Regions from separate parts of the Homo sapiens genome. Here region 1 is linked to region 2. The links are contacts of gene promoters, found by promoter capture Hi-C in blood cells and fetal thymus (Javierre and others, 2016). All regions are on one chromosome and are shown on one strand. Each heading gives the region's core, a stretch centred on a gene start or on the middle of the fragment in contact. The rest is flanking DNA. Distances are from core to core; before and after follow the strand shown. Region 1 overlaps LINC02235 (long intergenic non-protein coding RNA 2235). Region 2 holds the start of CHMP4C (charged multivesicular body protein 4C).

What was found. The method cuts DNA at HindIII sites, captures the fragments that hold promoters and counts their contacts. A CHiCAGO score of 5 or more calls a contact.
Region 1: a contact is called between a fragment that was not itself captured here and the fragment with the promoter of CHMP4C in region 2, in 1 of 17 cell types (total CD8 T cells). The highest score is 5.3, in total CD8 T cells.

What each region holds. Positions count from the first base shown.
Region 1 is chr8:81,869,083-81,876,341 of GRCh38, reverse strand. LINC02235 (long intergenic non-protein coding RNA 2235) reads right to left here. Exons shown (of 8, transcript NR_170320.1): 7 at 2,824-2,940. Among named protein-coding and RNA genes, the nearest start is that of LINC02235, 30 kb to the right of the region's middle. The HindIII fragment of the contact is 4,389 bases long and covers 439-4,827 here.
Region 2 is chr8:81,729,393-81,736,505 of GRCh38, reverse strand. CHMP4C (charged multivesicular body protein 4C) reads right to left here and starts at 4,058. Exons shown (of 5, transcript NM_152284.4): 1 at 3,690-4,058. The coding sequence starts at 3,879. The HindIII fragment of the contact is 11,241 bases long and covers 3,013-7,113 here.

The DNA of each region.
Region 1 (7,259 bases), core at 1,384-3,883, 140 kb before region 2:
TCAAACAATACCCACAATTTAAGGATGAATTGACTTGATATGATTCTATGAGCATTTAACCCCCAAATTCCTCTATTCTAAATATTCAATCTATAGAACGTTATACAAAAATAGAAAAGGATAGCTAACACTGTATATATGCAGAAGATAGTATGTGTTCAGTAGAAGGAACAGCAGCATGCACTGTGTATGTGCCATAGGTAGACTGGTAAGAGACATATGAATAGATTGGCAGATCAATCAATAGATATTTTAACTAGATAGATATGGATCAATAGACAGGCAAATAAGTATTATTACATGATTTTACCAAATTTCCTCATTTCCAAAATGTGGAAGTCATGATCAAGATAATTCTATGAGTTGAAAAGCTATGCCTGAATAATGTTTGCATGGTCCATGTACTGGTAAATGGGAAAAGCAAAATGATTGAAAGCTTTAGGAATTATTTCTAACATCCGGATTTGGACAATTAGTATTTGTTCTTGAGGCTATAAATTGGTACTTTTTCACATTATTAAAAAGTCTAGTGACTACTGGAGTTTAGGGAGATCATTTTCCCTAAAAGTTAAAAAATAAATTGTTGAAAGTATTTCTTCTCCCAGATGGCACATGATGGCATCTTTATAAAAGCATCAATATTTGAGACACTCAATGTCCAATGTACTGTTTCATTCATGTTCTGGGATTGTGTTTTTATTAGTATGTATGATATGAAAATGTAGATTATATTTCTAAATTTAAAATTATATTCAAGTTATAAATTTAATAATTAATTTCCTGAAACTTTTATGAAAATAAACCCATAAAATCATAAACATTTTACCCTAAATATTTATGCAATATTTTATGTATTTATATAGTTTCACTTCCTTTGCCTAGGTAGTTTATATATCATAGTGGCCCAAATGAAAATTCTGGTAAAGAATCAGATACCTGGCCAGTTGTGGTGGCTCATGCCTGTAATGCTGATACTTTGGGAGGCCAAGGCGGGCAGATCACTTGAGATCAGCCTGGGCAACATGGCAAAACCCTGTCTGTACAAAAAAAAAAAAAAAAAAAAAAAAACCCACACAAATGAGCTGGGTGTGGTGGCACATGCCTATAGTCCCAGCTAATCAGAAGACTGAGGTAGGAGAATTGCTTGAGCCCAGGAAGTCAAGGCTGCAGTGAGCCAAGATCATGCCACTGCACTCCAGTCTGGGCAATAGGGTGAAACCCTATCTCAAAAAAAAAAAATCAGACACCTATCTTCTAATGTCTATATGTATATTATTTTGAGGAAAAAAATGAATTCTGCAGATAAACAATACGAATATTTTCACTTTTTAAATCATTTATTTTAGTGGAAGGACAACTGAAGTTTTTTTTACTTGTATTTTTTTGTTATATAATGAGGTCATTATTTCCAGAGAATAATTCCTCTTTCTAATTGCCTGAAACCACTGTCATAATAATTTGATTTAGATAGGAAAGAAACAATCATAGTCTCTTTTCAATTAAGAGACATACTTTATTTTCCAATTCATCCATTTTCCTCATCTTCTCTAAAACTCATTACAACCTGAACAATTTTATTCATCCCAAACAACTTCTGAAAACACAGTCAAGGGTTACAGTATAATTGTGAAGTTTTAATGTTGTCCCTTATCTTTTTCTTGGAAAAATTTATATTAATAGGTAGAAACTCCAGCTTTTTTTTTTTTTTTTTTTTTGTGATGGAGTCTTGCAATGTTGCCCAGGCTGGAGTGGAAACTCCAGTATTTTAAAGTATTTCTGTAAAGCAGTACATTGGCTATGAAAATAAAATACAGAAAAACCATGGCTTTTTTCCAGATATAACACTATTACATATATTTTGGAACACCCGAATATATCAAGAAACAATGATTGTTGTTATGCCAAAGTATATTTTCACCAACTAAAAGAAAACATTCATGATCCACCAACTGAGGACAAACAAACCTTTTATGACCTAGAACCTGGAGACTGGATCTTTTGGAAATGACACCGGAGAAAGACTGCTCTTGAACCCCACAGGAAGGGATCATCCCAAGTTCTTCTCACCAGCCACACTGCAGCAAAATTTTAGGGCCTTGAGTATTAGGTCTACATTTCTCAATTCAAGAGAATCTCTCCAAACTCTTGGGACTGTACTCCTGTTGGAAACCTCAAGATAACACTTACCAGAGAGGTTTCTCCTCAGAGTCAGACAACATCCTAGGTGTGGACAGCTTTTCCAAGGTCACAGATCAAAATTTCTCTCCTCTGTCATCATGAAACCTTTGTTATTTTTCCACTTTGCCCTGTGTTTCTTTTCTGCTTATATGTGGCAAGCTAATGTGATAATTAAGGCTTCTGTGATAATCAACAGCTTCCACAGAGAAATGCACTAAATGTTGGATATGTCATGTTAAACCTAAACCCTTACGTGATTTTAGAGATCCTTAAGTTTACCCTGTAACAAATTTCACCATTATTTTCAGTGTGACTATTTATTCAAATTTCACATCTGGTGCTTTCTATAACGTGAGGCTTTTAGAGTCAGATATTCAAGTTCCATGTTTAAATCTAACTGTTTAGATCTAACAATAGGCAAAACCCATAGTGAGGGTTTTGTAGTTAAAGTATGCCAGAAAATAAGAAAACCAAAAGAAAGATAATTTGAAAGTTTATAGACAAATTTATAACCCCAATTCCTTAACTGTCAGTAGCTTCCAACCATGCAATAATGAGGTTGGGAGTTCGAGACCAGCCTGACCAACATGGAGAAACCCCATCTCTACTAAAAATACAAAATTAGCGGGGCATGGTGGCACATACCTGTAATTCCAGCTACTCGGGAAGCTGAGGCAGGAGAATCTCTTGAACCTAGGAGGTGGAGGTTTCAGTAAGCTGAAATCACACCATTGCACTCCAGCCTGGGCAACAAGAGTGAAACTGTCAAAAAAAAAAAAAAAAGAAGAAAGACAAAGAAGCCTTGGATAAATATTACTACCATTGCTTCCCTACTGGTAACCTCTAACACACAGGCATCCCGCAGGGAACTACCTATTGTGCCCTTCCAGGAGATATTTTATGTGTGGAGCATTTAATCATCAACTGCATGCATGGACAACTTTATATCTCAATAAGTGGAAAATAAGAGGCCAATGTGGATTAGAAGTTCTAACAGTACTATTGTCACTCCATAACCAATTGGAAACTAAATATTGGTCTACACCTCTTAATTTGTTCTATAAAATAAAGAGGAATTTGTCAGCAGTCATAAATATCTCATGTAGAGAGATCTTGAGATTTAGAGAGCATTTTTGGTAGAATACTCCTTCCCTGGATTGGCATAAATGTAAGTAAAGTTATTATTAAAATTCTGTCTTAAACATTAGCTACTATATCTGACTCAACTGCAAAGGCTTTAGTTGCCCAGCAACCTTTTAAAAATCCTCTTGCTAAGATTGTTTTAGATAACGGCATTGCTTTGGACTACCTGTTGGCTGAACTGGGGCAGGGTGGGTGGGGAGGCTGGCAGAAGATGGGGAGTGATGGCTAAGATCTCTTGCTGCACTTGGATACATGTGTCTGGTATGACAGCAGCTCCATTTTAAGAAATCAACAAACAAGCTACTTGGTTAAAACAAGTAGATTCATCTTCTGACTTATTTTAAAAATTTGTCTGATTTTAATTTGTTCAGTTCAGGAGAGTTCCTATTAGGAGTGCACTTTATTCAGTCTTTTGCCATTATTCTCTGATAGTTTTCATAGTAGTTTTCCTGGTGCACTGTATTTTCTCAAGAGTCTTAATGCTTGTATGCAGCTATCCACACTGCATCATATGGTCCCACTCCAGTTAGAGCAACAAAAACACAAAGAAAACAAAAAGAATCACTCGACTGACCTGACATGATAACTTGTGAATTCCATACTGAGACCAAACAAGTTCAATATGATGGTGACAAAGAGCTCCTGTGTAACTCACAAAAACAAAAGCTCTTTGGGATTCTTTCAGTAATTTTAAAGAGCATGAAATGGTCCTGAAATCCAAAGTTTGAGAACCACTGTTCTAAGAATAATCTGTAAACTGACAGCTGGTGAAAGGAAAATAATTAAGACGAGGTTGGATGAGAGAGGTGGTTTGAGAGGAAGAAGAGTTCTGAGGAATGGGAAAAGAAGCACGGAACCACAGAGAGGTTTTGTTAGTCAGGAGTAACAGCATGACCCATTGTTTTCTCTTTCTCTCATTTTCATTCCAATTCATTCCTGCTTCTTGTGCTATGCTTCTTGCTATCTGTGATATATAGATTCCAAATCTCCCTGCTATATTTCCATGCCAATACCTACATTACCACCTATCCTGACCCCATCCCCGACCGTTACCAGACAAGCACTGATATCATATGAAATTTGGAGACCAGGAATGAAGGAAACTAGATAGGGTAGGAGAAGGGAAGGGCAGATAGTAATATGCTGAATTAACCTCAGCACTTCCAGCAAGTTTTCAAAGCGCCAGTGGAGAAAGGAAAAGAGAAAGATAGCTCTACAGTGGTGTGGCTATTTATTCTTGAGTGTACATTATGAATACTCATTAAAAATTGCAAATTTCCTACCACATTCAATTAAATGGGAAAGTTTTATGAAAAACTTAAAAATTGGGAATTAATTTAAAAAAGAAAAGTTTAGTTAGTTGCCAAAGCATAAGAAAGGAAATGAGGAAAAATTGCAAAGGTATCAATGTTACAATTGAATCAAAAAGGAAATTTAATATTCTTGATTATTGATACAGGATTACAATTGAAGTTATGTAAATATATTGAAATATACAAATAAGCTTTATTAAAATTAAATATCAAAAAAACTAATTGAATATACTTTTTAAGTTTTCATTTTTAAGGACAAAGTTAGTGCTGAAACTGAGAGTACTATGAGGCAACTTGGCCCTCTTAAATACAAATGAAATTACATTTTAAATATAAACTAGTGGATGAGTTTATTTTCATTGTTATTTAAAATATAAATTCATTGGTGGATGTAACATCTGCTGCATGTGTTACTCTAGGTTTCTTAAATTCTCAATAAGTGACTTTGAATAATATTTGCTGTTAAAATCAACACTATATATCTCAGAAACCATATTATCTGACTTGTATACAATATCAATACTTTCATTTTGCTATTCAATAGATTTCTTTTAGAGCCGCTTGTAATTTTTTCTTTAAAAATATATAAATGTGAAATGCTAACTTTTGCCACAAGGTGGCTCTTCATAGACTCTAACTGTATCATCTAAGCAGCTCTTTTTAAAAATTTCCATAAAGACTATATTATCTCCTAAACGTTCTTTTAAAGTGAATATTATTGATATAAAACAAGTTTTGGGAATAGAGGAAAAATCTAAGATAAATAGTTAGATTCTTTCAATGATTTCTGGTGTGTCCACACACACACACACACACACACACACACACACAGAGAGAGAGAGAGAGAGAGAGAGAGAGAGAGAGAGAGAGAGACTGCCATTATAATGTATTTATTTAGAAGATATCCAGGCTCTTGAGTTACTGTAGCAGAATGTGGTACCTCCTAAGGAAGGCAGTTCCTCAACAAAAGGCACCCTGAACAGGTACTTTCATCACTTACTTGGCAATCCATGATTGCTGTTTCTTCTCTTGTATAGGAGCATATCTCCCATTCAATATCCGAGGAAGGATGACATATGAAATCATTCACTTAAAGAATGGCTTTACTAGCAATGGCTTTACATAGACGGAAGCCCCAAATACAAAGCATTTATCCATTAAACAAATGTATATTGGTCTACTCTATATTCCAGACAGTACAATAGATAGACAGCTCAGCATAGCAGTTAAGAACATAGACCCTGGAGCCAAATTGTCAGGACTTCAATAGTGATTACACTTCTTATTATCAGTGTGGTCTTAGTAAAATACTTAACTTATTGCATCCAGATTTCCTTATATGTTAAATAGGTATAATAATATAAGATTGTCATGAGGATTAAATAACTGAGTGAAGTAAAGGCTATAGAATAATGCTCACTATATTTAAGTGTTTCATAAGTGGTAGCTATTATTACTAGGTGCTGTAGTGGATTTAAATCAGATAGGCAAATTCCTTGATACTGCATCAATCAAAAGTCTAATTCCCTTTTACTCAGATTTGAGCTGGCCTTAGTGAAGCATTCCTAATGAATAGAATGCAGGGACTTCCAAGGCCAATGAGAAAAAGTGATATAACTTCAATATGCTCTTCCCTCTATCTTAGGATGCCCACCCTTGGAACCCAGACACTGCTATGAGGAAACAAGCGACTAGCTCCCACTTATGTGTGAGAACATGTGGTAGGCATTTTCTGTTCCTGCATTAATTCGCTTAGGATTATAGCGTCCAGCTTCATCCATGTTGCTGCAAAGGACATGATTTTGTTCTTTTTATGGCCACGTAATATTCCAAGATGTAGATATACCACATTTTCTTTATCCAATCCACTATTGATGGGCACCTAGGTCAATTCCATGTCTTTGCTATTATAAATAGTGTGGCAATGAATATACCAGTGAATGTGTTTTTTTTGGTATAATTTATTTATATATACCTATTTTCCTTTAGGTATATATCCAAGAATGGAATTAATGGGTCAAATGGGGGTTCTGTTTTAAATTCTCTGAGAAATCTCCAAACTGCTTTCCACAGGGGACGAATTAATTTGCATTCTCACCAACAATGTATAAATGTACTCTTTGTTTCTGCTACCTTGCCAGCAGTGGTTTTTTGACTTTTTAATAATAACCATTCTGACTGGTGTGAAATGGTATCTCATTGTGGTTTTTGATTTGCATTTTTCTAATGATGATTGATGATGAACATTTTTTCATATGCTTCTTGGTCACTTGTATGTCTTCTTTTTCAGAAGTATCTATTCATGTCTTTGCCTATTGTTAATGGGGTTGTTTTTTGCTTGTTGATTTATTTAAGTTCCTTATAGATTCTGGATATTAGATCTTTGTTGGATGCATAGTTTGCAAATATTTTCTTATTCTGTCTGTTGTCTGTTTACTCTGTTGATAGTTTCTTTTGCTGTGCAGAAGCTTTTCAGTTTAATTAGGTCCCACTTGTCAGTTCTTGGTTTTTGTTGCAGTTGTTTTTGGGGACATCATAAAAAATTCTTTGCCATCGCCAATGTCAACAAGGGCATTTCCTGGATTTTCTTCTAGGATTTTTATAGTTTGAGGTCTTACATTCAAA
Region 2 (7,113 bases), core at 2,809-5,308:
TCTAAACTGTTTTAGCAATCCACATATTTAGAATATGTAGAATTTCACCAATTAGGCCAGGCCCAGTGGCTCTTGTCAGCACTTTGGGAGGATGAGGCAAGAGAATTGCTTAAGCCCAGGAGTTTGAGACCAGCCTGGGCAACATAGGGAGACCTCACCTATACAAAAAAAAAAGAAAATTAAATAGCTGGGTGTGGTAGTGCGTGCCTGTGGTGCTAGCTACTCAGGAAGCTGAGGTGGAAGGATCACTTGGGTCTCGGAGGTCAAGGCTGCAGTGAGCCCTGATCACACCACTGCAATCCAGCCTAAGTGACAAAGCGAGACCCTGTCTCAAAAAAATTCACCAGTGAGATCCCGTTTCTAACATTTATTTATTTATTTATTTATTTATTTATTTATTTATTTATTTATTTATTTATTGAGACATAGTCTGACTCTGTCGCTCAGGCTGGAGTGCAATGGCGCGATCTCTGCTCACTGCAACCTCCACCTCCCAGGTTCAAGCAATTATTTTGCCTCAGCCTCCCAAGTAGCTGGGATTACAGACACGCTCCACCACATCCGGCTAATTTTGTACTTTTAGTAGAGATGGGGTTTCACCATGTTGGCCAGCCTGGTCTCAAACTCCTGACCTCAAGTAATCTGCCCACTTCAGCCCCCCAGATTGCTGAGATTACAGGAATGAGCCACCATGTCCTGCCCCATTTCTAACATTTATTATGCTAATTAAAAGTTTTTCATTTTACCAGTAAAACTCATTTTGACATTTAGAATGCTGTCAAAGCTTCTGTTGTTGTAGAGAAATTGATCTTTGAAGAATCTGAAATGGCTAGGAGTGTGGCCTTTTCTGATATAATGCTACCTGGCCATTCAGAGAATATATTAGCTGACCAACCATCTCTAATAATAAAACTTCAATTGCACATAAATTATGTCACCCTGATTATCATATAAATTACAGCCATTCTAGCAATGGCATTGTGCCACACAGGGGCCATTTAGTAGTAAGTATATCAGGTTTTATTTTACTATTTTATATCACTTGGTGGCTAATAGAAGACAGTTAACTATGTATATGAAGTTATGAAGTATATGAAGTTATCTGGTTTATTTAGAAGGTTCTGATATTGAGCGTGTTACCAACGCAGGAGCCTAAGATTGAATTCTTTCCATAGCTTAGATTACAGATGACCTCATGCTAACCAGCCTCTTCTTACTCCCAGAGTCACTCTAGAAGCTCTGGGAGTTTCTAGACACTAACACCAGTGAAGCTTCTGAAGACAGAGTTAATGACTTTTCTATTAAAAATTAGGGCTAGGCGCAGTGGCTCACACCTGTAATCCCAGCACTTTGGGAGACTCAGGCAGGAGGTTCACTTGAGGCCCAGAGTTTGAGACCAGCTTGGCCAACATGGTGAAACCCCGTATCTACTAAAAATACAAAAATTAGCTGGGCATGGTGGTGCACGCCTGTAATCCCAGCTACTCGGGAAGCTGAGGCAGGAGAATCACTTGAACCCAGGAGTTGGAAGCTGCAGTGACCTGAGATCCTGCCACTGTACTCCAGCCTGGGCGATAGAGTAAGATCCTGTCTCAAAAAAAAAAAAACTTATTTGCCATTCATACTTGCATCTATAACTTTCTTGATTTAAGGAAGTTAGATTGGTAGTCTTAATTAGCACTGTCTTTAAATTTTTTGTCTTTATTCATAAAGTCAAATTGAGATCGAATTTTTGTGCATTGCCAATTGAAGAGTACCTCTGAAAAAAATCAGTAAAACCCACATTATTTTGCACTCTGTCTTTGAAAACAAATTTACATTTTTACCACTTCCTAGAAGGAAATGGTCAATTTTTTAGATTTTTAAAACCAACATCAGCCAGGTGCGGTGGCTCACACTTGTAATCCTAGCCCTTTGGGAGGCCAAGGCAGGTGGATCACCTGAGGTCAGGAGTTCGAGACCAGTCTTACCAACATGGAGAAACCCTGTCTCTATTAAAAATATAAAATTAGCTGGGTGTGGTGGCACATGCCTGTAATCCCAGCGACTCGGGAGGCTGAGGCAGGAGAATCGCTTGAACCTGGGCGGCAGAGGTTGCGGTGAGCCAAGATCGCGCCATTGCACTCCAGCCTGGGCAACAAGAGTGAAACTCTGTCTCAAAACAACAACAACCACCACCAATATTTGCTGAGCAACCATGGTAGACAAAGCTGTACACAGATCCAAATAGATGGCAAAGGGAAGAAAACCCTTGACAGACACTAAGCAAACGTCAGAGTGTGTATCAAACTGAAGAGGAAGGGCCAAGGAGCAAAATGACCAACAACATTTTTAGCAAGCCATAATGACATGGTCTTTCTTTAGAAATTGCCATTGCATAACTTCCCAGAATATTTTCAGACACAAAGTAAAAGTAGAAATCAGTACTTACCTCTAAAACAGGCTATAATATGCACAAAAGTTATATGCAATAAAACAGCCTTCTTATTGTTGGTGGTAAGTGGGCATAAATGTAGCTGGCACACTTTTACAGAAAGAGGCAGAGTTCTCAAGTTCATCTCCTTGAGACTTCATTCCTTTCCTGCATTAAACAATGGCAGCATCCTGTAGAGTGAGCCAAATCTTCCCAAGGCTTCATTATGACTAAAGAAGCCCAACTTGAGGGTGCAAATGTTTGGGTTTGGTGGTAAGCAGAGTCCGATATTGCCACTTCCTTTTCTGGGTCTGCCATGAACCCGGTGTTACAAGAGCAAATCACTTCAACTTCTCACTGAGTTTTTATCTGTGCCACAGGTGCTGTTTAGAGGTATTCCAATAGAAGGAGCAGTATACTGAAGAAATCAGTTAACTCTGGCAAAGAACAGGTGTTCAAGGTGCAACAGGAACACCAAGAATCATTACTGACTCAAAGTCTCTTGTGTGTGCCAAAAGTCAGTGATAGGAAATTTAATAATTAATTCCTCTACCTTTTTTTTTTTTAAGACTTCAACTGCCGAACATCCAGCTAAAGCTTTCCACAGCTGAGGAGCAAGGTAGACCACAACGTACTAGAATATCCTTTTCTGAAGATTTACGTGCAAGTTAAAATGTGTAATTTAATATACAAACATACAGCAGAAAACTTCATGGTTAGTGTTGGAGTCAGCAAGGCTGGCCTAGAAAAAGCTGGACCAGGAGCAAAATTTACAGGGGTGCGAAAACACTCAGTAATCAAGACAAATAATATTTTAATGCAATATTTTTAAAATTCAAAATTAATATTAAAAAATCCACGATGAACAAATCATCACATTATAAAAAATAATTTTAAATAAAGATGTGCTGCACATAACAACATAAGAGCTAGAGGCAAATGAAAAAAATCAATACCAATCTTGTCTTTATTTAAAATTTTGATATTTTCTTCATCATTTCTTTTTTGGCATTGGTTCTGAGTCCTTTAGGTATTGCATTAAAGTATTGTTCATCTTGATTACTGAGATTTTTGGCGGCCCCTTACATTTTGCCATCAGTGCCAGTGTCTAGCTCAACTCACCCTAGTCAGTGCCCTAAGAGTCAGTACCAGTTCCTAGAAAAGACTGCAGGAGCAAACCTGGCCACCTGGGGACCTCAGTGGTGTGGGCCGATTGTCCCCAAGGGAAAGGCTAGAGGCAGATGGGCTCCCGCCTGTGGGCCAGACCCCAGCCTACCTCGCTTATTCTGCGTGCCGTGCTTCTTGGCCAGGGCGATTTCTCTCTGGATTCGATTTTCCAGGTACTCTTGTTTCTTGCCCAGCATCTCCTCAGTCTCCCGAAGTCGGACCAGGGCCTCCTGGGGACTGGGAGCGGCTCGGCTCTTAGAAGAGCCGCCCCCTTTAAAGAACTTGCCCAACTTGCTCATTGCTGTGGAGTTCGGAGGGCCAGCGATCCCGGGGGCCTCTCGGGAGCTCCCCGGGGCCGCGCCGAGGGGACAGGTGAGCAAGGCAGTCCTCTCGGGGACCCAGACCGGAAAGGCGGCCCTCCTGGGAATCAACAAGTCGTCCTGGACAGGTGACACACACTCCAGGGCATTTCCTGGCTGCCAGTTCGGCCCCGCCCCGCTGCACAGCGGCTGGGCGGGGAGGCCACCGCTGGGACGTCGGCTGGCCGGCGCCACCCGGCCCTCTGGGAGTTGAGCGAGAGCAGAGAAAAGTTGAAAAGACCGACAAAGACTGTGGGAAGTTGGCTTTTATCCACACTAGGGACGGTCCCAGGAACGAGGAACTAGTTTGTGAATGGCTCAAAGAAAAGCAAACCGATGTCCAGGGGTCTTGTGCAGGACCTGAAAGTGTAAGTGCGCAAGACTGGATATGCAAAATGCTTTATTCCATGCGTGTCTTTTGTGTGTACGTGAGCATAGTGTTCCTGTATTCAGGCCTCTGTTCTTGTGAATAAGAATATTCAGATCTTTTCCTCTAAGTGTATGTCATGTAGGTATGAGTGTGTGGACACAAAGGCTTCCAGGATATTTGTCTGCCACTAGGATGCAGGTGTGTGGGCAAGCTCGGAGCAGCTGCTGCTACTGGGCTTGTTTCTGCATTTGGTAGTCCGGGCAGGTTGATGTGTGCCTGGATGCTAGTTGGCACAGTGTAGATTCTAGATCATCCTTACAGGACTTGAAGTGGGTGAAAGATGGTGGCCATCTCTTTTCCTAATGTCAGGACTTCTGGAGTGTGTTGGTGGTTGGATTCAACTCTATAACTAGGAATCCGAAGTTTTCTGAATGATCCTCAGTGTATCAAAAACCTTAAATGGGGCTGCCCTGGTGTTTGGCTGTATGTCAAATGCTATTACATAGATACTTAAGTAACAAAAAGTAGAGAATATCCTGGAGAAGAGAAACATTCTTTTGTTCATGCTCACTATCTCAGCCCATCTATTAGATCTGCTGGCAAATAATTTAGTAAGATGAAAGGACAGCCATATGTAATGCTTATAGATGATGCAATACTGCTGCAAACCTGTGTCAAGCACACTACAAAGAAGTGGAATTATCTGTGTTTTACTCTTCAACGATTGCCATGTGCTCTGCATAATATAGCCGTATTTGAGCAACGTTACCCAACATTACCAAAACCTATTTTTGATTGTTAGCCAGCCACTGTTTAAGAGAAAAAAAAAAAAAAAAAACACCCATTACTCTGACAAATTCACCTTGATACCCAAGATCAATAACACAATTTTGTCTGCAAGCATACAAACACAAAGCAGCAAGTTAATCTATTTATCCAACATTGGCATAGATAGCATAAAATTTTGCCAAAGAAATTGAACACTTCCATAGGAGGCTTACAGTAAGCATCTTCTAACACACAAATATGTGAACTTATCATTTCACAGTAACTGCAGCCAGCCACCTCCTATCATTTCCTGGCTGGCCATGTAAAGCATGTATGGTCTATAACACACATTTTGCTCTAATTTCATGTATAAGTTGTCGTAAGTATTGTTTTTCTTTATTATCTAAATATTTCATGAATAAGTTTTGGAGTGTATTTTCTTGATTAGATTTTTAAGGCCCTTGAGAGTTGAGAAGTAGCACATATTCTGCTATTGTTCCCGTTGCTTTTCAGTTTAACTAGCCTTTATTGAGTGTAAGGTACAGGGAATGCAAGTATAGTCTGCCCTCTAAGAGCTTACCTTCCAGTGACAGTAATAACAGCTACCATCTTTTGAGCACTGACTATGTGTCAGGCTTATCAATAAATATATGCTTATCACTAATCCTTACATAAACCCTGCAAAATAGGTATTGCTGTTTCTGTTAGACAGAAGAAGAACCCAAGGCTCAGTTGATAACTTAACCAAATTTAACAGGCAGCAAAAGTGAAAGAGATCTTTCTGTTTGAAAACGCATGGTCTTTTCACTATTTACATGATGGTATTTCCCTCTGTGCAACTTGGACTAGAGGAAAAACTCATTAAGTATTTGTTTAATTAAATAGCATGGGGTGAAGAGGTAATTATTAGGCATTATCTTTAAGGGATCCTCCAAGCATTATTGAATTCATGGAGGAGTGCATTTAAATAAGAACTTATCCAGAATACTAAGGCATTCTTTGGGGTTCGTTAGTTACTTTTTTTGTTGTGAGAACATTGGACAGTAGAACAGAGAGACAAAGTTATAACTGAGGAATTGCCTAATCCACACATCCATGGTTTCATTCAACTGATGCTTATTAGGTGTCTCTATGATCCAGGCATTGTGCTAGTGTTGGGGATACAGGTAAGAGTAAGAAACATTGTCTGTTCCAACAGAGCTTACAGCTTAGGGGAGAACACAGAAATTAAGCAAATTATCTCACAAACAATAAACTTCATAAGTTGGGGTTCTAATAAATTATATAGAGAAGTACAGGATCTATAAGAATAAATAGTAGAGGAACTTGACCTTGTCTTGGGGTCAGAGTGGCCTGAAAAAGTGATATTTAAGCTAGAATTTGAATGATGAATAGAAGCTACCTGGTTTTAGGGAAGGGAAATTTGTATTCCATTATAAGGAATTCCTTATTCATTTACCAATTTATTTATTCATTTATTCATCACTTTTAGATGTAGAGATTCAGCAGTGAATAAAAAGACAAAAATACATTCATTTTTGGAGCCTACTTTCTAGCTAAGGGAAGATGGACAATTAAGATAGCAATGTACTATGTGTACTATATTTTAAAAAACAAGGCAAAGAATGTTGGAGAATTAAAATTTTAAACAATATGTGCAAAAATCTTGAGTTTGAAGTACTAGGGGTTGAGAAAAGGTCACTGTCGCTGGCGCTTGGAGACAGAAGAGGAGAGTAGGAGAGTGTGGTGAGGTCCCTACAAAGGTAGACAGAGTCCAGATTACATAAGGTCCACATGATGTGCTAAGGATCCGCATTTTATTGAAAAAGCAAATGAAAATCAATCAGACATTAAAACAAAGAAGCTAGTCATTAATTTGTAATTCCATAGGAAAAAATAATCAATTTAACCAATTTAATGTGTAGCTCTTTCAGAAACACATGTGGTGTGCAAAGCAAGATACATTTAAATTAAAAATCATTTCCTTCCATTAATACATAAGCTCAAAGAGGAAAAGATAATACTTGCAAGCAAGT